Regions from separate parts of the Homo sapiens genome. Here region 2 is linked to region 1. Evidence: promoter capture Hi-C in human tissues and cell types (Jung and others, 2019). All regions are on one chromosome and are shown on one strand. The core of a region is centred on a gene start or on the middle of the fragment in contact, and the rest is flanking DNA. Distances in the headings are between cores, read along the strand shown.

Region 1 (5,602 bases), core at 1,424-3,923:
AGAGTGGAGTCTGAGAAAGAGCAAACTGCCTTTAAAGATTTATGGTGTGAACAAAATGGGCTCTCTCCTCAGGTGACCTAAGGTTTCCCAGGCATTGACTTTTTTTTTTTTTCCTGGAAAAAAAGCAGCAGCTAATTCTGAGTCCTCCCTCCTGAGCCCCTGGTAGAGTGTTCTCTCCATGGAGCCCGGCTCCCCCCTCGGAGCAGGACAAACAGCCCTGAACACCCCTGCCTCCCTGTGGCTGCCGGCTCTGTGGTCCTGGGCAAGGCTGACCTGAGACTTGGGGGACGCCAGAACTGTGTGCCCTCACGATGCTCAGCCACCCATGCTGTTCATCCCCTGCTCCCCACCCAAAGACCTCCACATTTCTCCTACTGTCTCCTTCCAACCTGCTCCTCCTCCTCTCCAGCCAAACCCCTCCACTGTTACCTCCCCCAGTAACTGGCACTTGGCTGAGGACTCAGCTTCCCCACAGCCCTCTCCAGCGCAGGCTATTCACCTTCTCGCACCCTTCAAGGTCAGGATAAGCGGCCTCCTCCCTCCGCAAGGCCATGTCCACACAGTTTCCCCTCCACTCTCATCCCATGCTCACCTTCCTTCTGGTTACTCCCCCGTGTGCAGTGGCATTTTCGCCACCACCACCCTGGGTGGCCTTCCCTTGACCTCATCTCCAAAGACCTTCCCCTCCACTCCATTTCAGCCGCACACTCCCACGGGCAGAACCTCTTCCTGACCCCAGGAATTCAGGTATTGCACGCCCTCCTCATAAGCTCCCACCCTTCCGGCCCAGTGACTCCCATCACGCTGGCACGTGTTCCTCAGCAGGCCTCCACTGTCTCCCTGTCTTACAGCCCCCTTTGGCCTCACCTCTCCCTCTCCCCCTACCTAGCTTGAACTGCAACCTTCTGCACCTCAATCACTCTTCTTCAGCTCTTCAAAGCCACCTTTCGCTTTTCTGAACCCAAACTCTGTAGGGGTCCAACAGCCTTCTTCTGGGTAGACCCCGCACTAGAGAAATGCAAAGCACACAGCCTAAGAGATTGGGGCCTCCGGGTCAGCGGCCCCCCACCTCAGCTGGGCCTTCAACACTGCCATAATCCCTCTGTCCTAGCCCACAGCGCCCCAAGGGAAGGGGAAGCTGGGCGGAGCGCAGTGCACCCACCTAACCCACCCCAATCCTTCCATTCCCTCCGCCTCCTCCAGGGCTTTGAGCCGCATTTCCTGCTCTTCTCGAGTAGGGGTAACCTCTCCCACTGTCAAAACTAAACTAGCTCAAGTCTTTCTCACCTGCAAAATAAACTCTCGAGTGCATCTCTCTCCAGCTACTGCCCCATGTCTTCTCCCCTTCGTGACCAGCTGTCTACACTTCCTGCCTCCATTTCCCCACTTTCTTACTCCCTGGCTCCTGCCCCCACGACACAACTGTTCCCCACAGGGCCACAGGCGGGCATCACTCAGTGTTGACAGGCTGCCCCTCCCTGTGACATAGCCCCCTGCTAGTACGCTCCTATCTCAGTCCCCTCCTCCCATGACCTGAGGCTGGAGCTCCCCCAGGATCTCTCCCAGGCCCTCTGCTCGCCATCAAAGGCGGATGCCTCACAAGCTTACGACTCCAGACAGGCTCACCCAACTGCCTCCTCCACCCAACGCTGCAGCCCACTCAAGGTCCACGTAGTCCAAGCTGCATTCCTTCCTCGCACTCCCTTGCCCTGTGTCCCCTCTTAGCAAATGGCAGCCTCGGCGATCCTGCCCCGAGACAGGCCTGCGCCCAGCGTGGAGATGAACATCAGTATTTGCTGAACGTGTAAACGAATCCTTGACCTTCCCTCATGCTCCACAGCCGGTGAGGATTCCTGTCCATTTTACTGCCTCCTACGTCCCTCGAGTCCTCCCCTCTGCTTCTTTGTTCACCGCGGCCAGCTGCCTCCCCAGACCCGCAACCCCGGCTGGGCCGGGAACCTGCACCGCGGCGCTCGTGCCCCGCTCTGCGACCCCTGCTCCGTGACGGCCGCACTGCACCGGGGTACCGCGGCCCAGCACAGGCGCTGGTCACTAGTACACGAACTAGCTAGGACTACAGGTGCACACCACCACACCTGGCTAATTTTTTATTTTTTGTAGAGATAATGTCTTACTAAGTTACCCAGGCTGGTCTTCTGGGCTCAAGCCATCCTCCTGCCTCGGGCTCCCAAAGTGCAGACATTACAGGCATGACCCACCGTGCACAGCGTCAGCTTTATTTTTTTAATGCTGACTTACTGCAGAAGGCCCAAGGGCCAGTGCAGTTTTCATACTGCTGTTGTAGTGGCGAACGGAGCCACGAGGGAAGGGAGCGCCGCCGGCAGCTGCCGGGACACCAGGATACCACGCGGCCAGCACCGAAACGCTAGGCTCGCGCTCACAACCGCAATCTACACTGAGTAGCCGCGCGCCGAACGGCGTGACTAAGCCCCGCCCACACGGCGCTCCTGGCGGCCAATGGAAATGGCTTACGAGACGCCTTCTCCACGCGCTATACTTATACGGACCAATGGGTGCGCCCTGTGGGGAGTGCCGCCCCCTGTCCACGAGCCTCCTCTTCTCGCCAGCCAATGGAAGCGGTCTGCCTAGCCCTCGCGGGGGCAAGGCGGCGACCGAGGCGCGTGGGTCTGGGAAGGCGCGCGGATTTGGCCCCTCTTCTCACATCAGCGGGTCCAGGCCCAACCGACAGACTATGGGGGCTCCGGCAACCAGGCGCTGCGTGGAGTGGCTGCTGGGCCTCTACTTCCTCAGCCACATCCCCATCACCCTGTTCATGGACCTGCAGGCGGTGCTGCCGCGCGAGCTCTACCCAGTCGAGGTGAGGGGCGCCCCTCTTATCCCGGCCCGCTGAGGCTCTCCCGGCGCTGCGTCCACAGGGCCTTCACCTCCTCCGCGCTCGCGCACTCTGGGTTCCAGTTGCCTCTCTCGGGTCCTGCCCATGCCTCCCCCGCTCCTAACCCAACTTTAGTTCGGTGTTTTCCTCGGGCTTTGTCTCTATCCCAGCCCCTTCTCCCAAGCGGCGGGGGCGAACGCTTTGTTTCCTTTAAAGTCACTTCTTCCCTGGGTTTAAGGTTTCCCGCGATTCCACCTCTGGCCGGTTGTCAGTGTCTGAGGGAAGTAGTCTGGATGAAGTGGTGTCCAAAGTCACATGTTAGGTTTGCTTTAAGCTTCTGGTTTTTTGTTTGTTTGTTTGGAAGGGCTTTAAAATACCAGTCTGATCCCAAAGAAAAAATCCGAGTAGAAATAGACCTGTCTGAAGGTTTAGCACCTTGGTTGGTGCAGCTGGGGCGTTCACAGATCGTCACTGCTTCGAGATCAGGTTCCAGCAACTTCCAGAGCTCAGGAGTAAATTGCCATCTTTTCAGATTGGCTCTTCAATATTGGGTTCGAGTAACAATGATCTCCTGAGTAAAAATAAAGGTGAAAATCCCGATTTCCTGGTTGTTGGAGAGCATTCTTTCAACCCCAAACTCTGCTTTAATGCTTTGTTTTTTTCTTCAAAGCTATAGTTTTAGTTTCCCGGTTCGTTGAGGTTTTTTTCTCGTATCTGGACCCTGTGACCTTCTTCCATGGAATTCCTGTCCTCAGTTTTGTTTCTCCATCTTATCTATAACTGTAGGCAGGACTGACTTGTCTACCCGAAGATTTTATTTTGCGTCTGTTTTTCCTTAAATGCTTTTTATCTGCCGAGGAGGGGTTCTTTACCTGAGGGTCATGAACTCCCAAAAATGGGTGCAAGTGTGTGTGCCTTTTGTTTCCTGCAAGGAGAATATAGCTTCCATCGACTTTTCAAGGGGCCTAACTCTCCCAAAAAGGCCACGGCTCAAGAATGTTCTACCACTCCCATAAGTCACTCTTTTTTGTTTGCTTCTAGAACCAAACACAACTGGAAGACCTCTGACCTCCTTTTGCATGGGAAAAGCGTAGGTAGCGTGTAGCAAGTTGCAGTCTGGGGACTTGGTTCTTCCAAGAACTGGAGGTGACTTGGGCAGGTCAGGGCTCTATATCCTCCTCAACTGTTGAGAGAGTTGAGTTAAATTATAAGCTCAAACATATACAGGGTGGGTTAGTTTTCATATTGCTGTTGTAGTTACCACAAATGTAGTGATTTAACAGATTTATTTGTTTACAGTTCTGGAGGCCAGAAGTTCACAATGAAATCTTACAGTGCTCAAATCAAGGCAGGGCTCACTCCTTCTGAGGGCTCCAGGGGAGAATCTGGTTCTTGCCTCTTCCATTTTCTGGTGGCTGCCAATGTTCCTTGGCTTGTGTTCACGTCACTTCAATCTCTGCTTCGGGTCATCACATTGCCTCCCTTTCTGTAGTCAGAGTTCCCTCTGCTTCGCTTTTATAAAGACACTTGTCATACATTCAGGGCCCACCAGATAACCCAGAAAATCTCCCATTTCAAAATCCTTAATTACATCTGCAAAGTCCCTTTTGCCAAATAAAGTAATAGTCACAGGTTCCAGGGATTAGGATGTGGTTATCTTTGGGGGCCATTATTCAGCCTACTACAGGGCCAGAGAGTACAGACTCTTCCCAAAGACCGAAGAGGTCATCGCAGCTCTGCAGTAACCATTAATTGCCCTGAAGAAAGGAAAATCTACTACAGTGTTGGCCTATCTGTGGTTTTTGAAACCTGTGTGGCCAGCAATACTCAGACAGGCTGCCTGTTTACAATCTCTGGTGTTATAGGACCTTTTAATACTTGGTAATTAGCCTGCTACTCCATGTAGCCATTCCAGACTTCACAGCTGTTGTCTTCTTTATCCTTCCTGGATGTGCCATTCTCACAAGCCCGTCTTGCTCACCCCTAACAAAATACACTTAAAAGGTGCTCAGCATCATATCATAAAGATCCCATTTAAATGTTTACATTTGATAAAATTTTCTCAGTCTTTTTTTTAGAAACAGGGTCCTTTGTCACCCAGGCTTGGCGTGCTGTGATGCAGTCATGGCTTACCACAGCCTTGAACCTGAGCACAAGAGATCCTCCCACCTGTCTCCTGAGTAGCTAGGACTATAGGTGCACACCACCACACCTGGCTAATTTTTTATTTTTTGTAGAGATGATGTCTTACTGTGTTACCCAGGCTGGTCTTCTGGGCTCAAGCCATCCTCCTGCCTCGGGCTCCCAAAGTGCTGAGATTACAGGTGTGACCCACCGTGCCCAGCGTCAGCTTTATTTTTTTAATGCTGACTTACTGCAGAAGGCCCAAGGGCCAGTGCAGGCAGCATCTGGCCAGAACCTGTGTGTGTGTGTGTGTGTGTGTGTGTGTGTGTGTGTGTGTGTTTGTGTGAGATTTAGGCATTAGCACGGGCATCCTGGGTGTGTGTGTATCTGTGTGTGTGATGATGTTTGAAGGCATTAGCTCGGTGGCATCCTGGCATGGAAGGTCTGTGCCTCCATTCTTGTTGCTTTGGTGTAGGAAATGCTGATTTTGTTGCTTCTCTATGGGGCAAATAATAATAAACGCCTTGAGTTATTCTCATATTCTCTTTGAAAAATGCCAAAATTTAACATCTGTCATTTTCTTCCTGAAATAGAAGGAATGTTTCCCTAGAGTTAAAAAACCTG
Region 2 (5,602 bases), core at 1,544-4,043, 170 kb before region 1:
CAGATAAACCAATTAAATATCTTTATTTTGCTATCTGAAAGTTTTTAACGCATCATTAGAACGTCATACAGCATCAGTAGCTCATTGCACTTGGAATATTAAATATGTTCTCAGACTTCAGTTGAGCAGGGAAGCCAGCCCACTATCTTTCTGAACTCTAGATGGCAAAAGCTTTTGACCTGATAGTTTTTTACATAAGACAGTATCACAACTTTTCACACATACGCACAACTTGAACTGTCCACAATGGTTAGCTGTCTGTTATTAAAAGCGTTTATTCAGCAGTGCCTTATTATGACATATTTATACAACACCTTGTCATCGGTAAGCATTTATTTGTAATACTTTGTAAATTCTCCCAGTTCTTATTGACTCTCTAAATGCTATGTAATGAATCAACTTTATTTTTCTTCTTTTTTTCTGAAGGGTGTGAAAAATGTAAGTCATAGACTATGTTGGCAGGCCTGAACATGGGAAGATAGAAAATTGACCGCCATCTACATACGACATAATTTTCTGCTTCAGCCTGAGATCCCAAGAACCACTCCCCTTCCTATGCCATGTAGTAAAACTCACATCACCTCTTTTAGTTCATTTAAAAGGCCTTCCTGTCTGCATAAAGATGATTTAGTGTGTAGCAAATCCTGAGATTGTTTTAAAGCACTGTTTAAAGTTCAAACTCAACAGCTGGATTTTTTTTCCCTCTGCTTTGAAGAGAGTCACTATAGTTGGAACAACTTATTCACGCTAGCTCTTTGAAACACCTGTGTTCCAGGTGAAGCCAAAAAAAAAAAAAAAAAAACTAAAGCTTGAATCTAGTCTTTTCACCTCTCCATTAAAAAATAAATATATCTCTAAAACTTCCCAGCTGGTGGGAATGAAATGCTGTCAGTGCTCCCAACTGTTAGAGGGTAATATTGAATAATAACAAAGCCACACTTAATTTGAGCTTCTGAAAAGCCTCATAACCTCATTATCATTCTCCTGAACTGCTTAACCTTCTGGTTAACCTTCTGATTATTAACCTCTTGACATACTTAATTCAGGTGTGAGAGTTTAGCGAAGCTCATGGGACTGTATTTATTTGATCTTTTTTGTCATGTCCCACTGTGTTGACTTTATTTTTTAAGATTGCTAGACACCAGGAGGCATGTGTTAGGTGGAGACCTAGAGGTTTCAGAAGCCACTAAATATATCAGACTTGCCATAATTGGAGGATATGGTGAATCAGTGGGGCTTTTAGGCACTTCATAGACCAGCTGAGTCTCCTGCTATCAACCCAATTTATTTGAGAGCAGTACCTCAGGAAACTTAATAGACCTGTAGCACACTAGCACAAATCTGGATTTTAGCCAGAGTACAGTTTATTTATGTGCTGCTTGTATTATTTTGCTCTCTGCATATTCTATGCCTGTCATTATTAAGTATTAATCAAAAATATTGAATTGTATCTTTGGCAGTGGGTTTAAAAATTACACGTTTAATTGATAGTTTACATCACTTAGAGGTGGCAAGAGAACCAGATGGTAGAAAATAGGATCAGGTTGAAGTGGCATTTTTTTTACCAAAGAAAATATGATTTGCATGAGTAAGCAAAGTTTTGGGGTTTTTAATGTGTGCTTTTGTTTTGGGGGGATATGGGGACTATTAATCAGTTATAGAATATTAATCCTTTTCTGTAATTAGGGTTAAATATGAAGAATACTAATCTGATAGGTAATATTTATCACTCTGAGCTCAAGACTAAGAAACGCTTCAGGTTATTAACCCTTTACCAAAACCAGGAGTTACCTTCTGTAGAGGTTCTCAGAGGTCTCACAGAAACTAGTACTTTTAATTGTTCCCTCAAGTTCCCATCTGTCAAAAATATGTCCTGTAGAAAACCTTTCTTGGTGTAAGTCAAGGGCTTTTTGTCCTTTGAGTGAATGAGTAAACTCTAAAGGAATGTGACTGTCACGGACATGTTTCTTTGATGCCAAAAACCCTGCATGAGACCACATTAATAAAAAGTGAATAAAGTTTTTCTCCTTCTTCATTGATGATATCCTTTTGAGATGGCCTAGTCTTTCCTTTTGAGATCACAGTGGCTTAAAGGAGCATTTTTTTTTTTTAAAGACAGTCTCACTCTGTCACCCAGGCTGGAGTGCAGTGGCATGATCTCAGCTCACTGCAGCCTCCACCTCCAGGGTTCAAGGGATTCTCCTGCCTCAGCCTCCTGAGTAACTGGGATTACAGGTGCCCGCAACCACACCTGGCTAATTTTTATATTTTTTAGTAGAGACAGTGTTTCACTGTGTTGGCCAGGCTGGTCTTGACTCCCGATCTCAGGTGATCCACCCACCTCAGCCTCCCAAAGTGCTGGGATTACAGGCATGAGCCACCGCACCCAGCCAAAAGGAGCTTTTTTGAGTGGTTGCCAGTTTCTTTGTTCCTTATATTCTTTTGCTTTTTTCCCTGGGGAGAATGTTGGAAAGAAATAGGGGCACATTCATACATTTTGAAAAAGGCCATGGACTTTGATATCAGGCAGCTCTGAGTTCAAATCCTGATTTTTTTTCCTCCACTTACTAGCTTTTTGACCTTCAAAAAGTTACTTGATACTCTTCCCTAAGCCTCAGTTTCCTCAATGATAATGGAGATGATATTCTTACTCACAGTTATTTTAAAGGAATAAATGAATTAATGTACGTTGAACATTTGGCATACCACCTAGCATGTATTGATGTTTTAAAAAAAACTCATTTCCCCTCCTCCCTCATATAACGATGTTGATGATGATGATGATGATGATGACGATGATGATGATGATGATAGCAGCTACCACCTAAATCGTTTTCTGTGTGCCAGGCATTTATATGTGATTCTAAATCCTAGCAGTAACTCTGTGTAGTAGGTGTTCCTGTACCTGTTTTATAAATGCAGGAACAGACTCAGAGAAGTTATTTAACTTGCCTAATGTTATCAAGCTACTAAGTGGCAGAGTCAAGATTCTAACCTTGGTCATTTTGATTCCAAAGCCTACAACAAACACACCGCCTCCCACTGCTGAACCTGTTAACTCCTTATTTTAAAAATCAATTTCCAGGCCTTCTCCCTCCTGAAGTAGAATTGTTTTGTTCTTACCTCTTTTTTTAGTTTTCTATTTTTGAAGTTTACTTTATCTTTTGAAGGACAGAGTACAAGAACGAGGGCTGTGATCTAGTGCCACGTCCGCTGCACACTAAGACCTTTGACTAATTTCTTTACCTCTCTAAACCTCTTTGCTCTGTATAATGGGAACCCATAATGGGACTTACTTCTTACAGTAATTAGGAGTAGGTGAGGCAAAATAAATTTAAAGCTGGATGCCTAACACATAGAAAATTGCAGTAAATTTCAGCTGTTTTCAGTCAGGCTTCTTTGTTCATTTACATTAAAATCTTTTTGCACCTTCTTGCCCTCTCTCCTTGATTTTTACATGTCAATGTCAGTCTTTTTCCAACCTCTTGGCTGTTGCCTTGCATTCATCCATCTTTTTTCTCAGTCTTGTCATTGAGTTAACATGTTCTCTACACCCACTTAGTACCCAGTCAGTGTTTATTGATGCTAATGATGATGGTTAAACAAAGATGCTGTTGGCACCAGTCCTGAAGGCTCTGAGACTCCCTGAGTAATCATGACTTCCTAAAAACAGAAAAGTACTCAATCATCTTATTTATAATTGAAGGTCAGAATTTGATGTCAGCATTTGTTTCTGTGGTGACTGTGTAGCTTTTTCTGAGGAATTACCTTTGACAGTTGGGGTAGTCAGTATTTCTGGTGTGAGGCTGATTATTATGCATTCTTAAATTACTTCCTAAAATAGATGCAGCATCGTATAGGTGGGTTAAACAAATATTGATCATGGTACAGATCTGCTTTAATTGGAGCAAGAGGTCAGGAGAGGCTTATCATTGAGGTGTAGATGGCTGCCAGGCTCTAGATTAGTTACCTGGTCTTCTTGCCCATAATCTTTTTTGCGTCAGAGAAAATTGTACAGGCCTATTTTTAATTCTAAGCAACCCTCTCTGTTCTCTCCCTTTTTGATATCTCTAATATGTTCCCACCTAATGTCCTTGATCTTCAGAAGATGTCTCATTTCTTGCTTTTTCTTGCCTCAAATTCTGTCCTCCATGATAACGTTTTCTTCCTCAGCAAATTTTGTGGGAATCTAGCAGGATGTGCTGCTTGTTATATTTGGGCACTGTCCACTAACAATTCAGCTGCTGACACTGGTTGCATTATTCTAAAGAATGTCATGTTGTTAAGGTTGAATTTAAAACCCATTAATGGTGAGAAGCTTCCATAATTTTAATATCCAGGTTTTTTAATAAAAGAAGGAAAGAAATGGAAAAATAAATTTTAAAGATAAACTTTTATGCAAATGAAAAGCAGATTGTAACCAAATGCAAATAAATACCTCAGTGTGGCATATTTCATTTAGTAGAAAGTAGAAATTGTTAATTTTTACTGTATCTAATGATTCCCAAACTTATATTTTTAACTTTGATCTCCCATCAAAGGCCTGTCCTGTATTTCCAGCAATCTCTCATTTAGACTTTAAAAAGAAATCTGTAAAGGGCTACTAGTCCAAGCCCTGTACCCTGCCCCCACCCCCCCACAAAAAGTAGCCAGGAGTTCCTTTTTTTATATACACATGCACATAAACATTTATACACATTTATACATACGTATGCACTAACTTTTTAGTTCTCATGCACTTAAAAAATATGAGGGGATATGAATCTATTTAAGCATATATGATTCATAAGTGCAGGGAAAATGTTTCTTGTATCGTCAAGATTATTTTTATAATTTGACTAAAGAAGGGTAAGAGGTAAAATACTTGAAGGAAGTGAATACTCAGGAGGTTAGAAAGAGACACTGAGACAAAGAGAATGAGGTAGCAAAATTTGCCTCTTGATTTTTTTAACCTTTTTATTTTTCAGTCATTGGCCAAAAGGGTATCATTATTTGTCAGACATTTCTTCACTAGCAGTTTAGACTTGTTACGTGGAAATAGCCACAAGTTGTTATGAGGATTAAATGAGGTGACCTATGTTAAAAGTGGCACATGGTAAGCTCAAAAATACTTTTCAGCAAACAGATAAATCCTCTGCAAATGTGGGATTATTTCTTATTTTGGTTGTGTTCTGCCAGTAACAGAACTAAGACTAAAATTCAGGTGCTGGAAGAAATGAATAAAAGTACTTGGGTGGATTGAGCAGTTACTTCAGGTGTCTTTGGATTCAATTTCTTCTGAAAGGAAAGACTAAACCTCAAAAAGAGAAAAATTAGTTATTTAGCATAACCTGCTACTTGTGTTGTGGGGATTCATGAAATAGTTCATATGAAGTACTTAAAGAAGTGTCTGGCACATAGTGAGCACTCAATAAATGTCCATTTTATTTTTATTACTTTTCATGTTGTTGTTAAAAAACGTTTTTTTGAGACAGGGTCTTGCTCTGTCGCCAACGCTGGAGTGCAGTGGCAATCAGAGCTCACTGCAGCCTCGAACTCCTGGGCTTAAACTTAAAATCCTTTCACTTTAGGCACAAGTAGCTGGGAATACAGGTGCGCACCA

Evidence for each region. The method cuts DNA at HindIII sites, captures the fragments that hold promoters and counts their contacts. A contact is called where the count stands out against the background at its distance.
Region 2: a contact is called between a fragment that was not itself captured here and the fragment with the promoter of TMEM97 in region 1, in 1 of the 25 tissues and cell types used here (IMR-90 fibroblasts).

Annotation. Positions count from the first base shown.
Region 1 is chr17:28,316,527-28,322,128 of GRCh38, forward strand. TMEM97 (transmembrane protein 97) reads left to right here and starts at 2,674. Exons shown (of 3, transcript NM_014573.3): 1 at 2,674-2,839. The coding sequence starts at 2,714. RefSeq lists enhancers at 953-1,778, 1,998-2,257, 2,738-2,797. The HindIII fragment of the contact is 5,118 bases long and covers 2,396-5,602 here.
Region 2 is chr17:28,143,614-28,149,215 of GRCh38, forward strand. All of the region lies in intron 3 of NLK (nemo like kinase), which reads left to right. LOC105371711 (a long non-coding RNA gene) reads left to right here. Exons shown (of 2, transcript XR_007065686.1): 2 at 427-5,602. Among named protein-coding and RNA genes, the nearest start is that of NLK, 100 kb to the left of the region's middle. The HindIII fragment of the contact is 4,609 bases long and covers 490-5,098 here.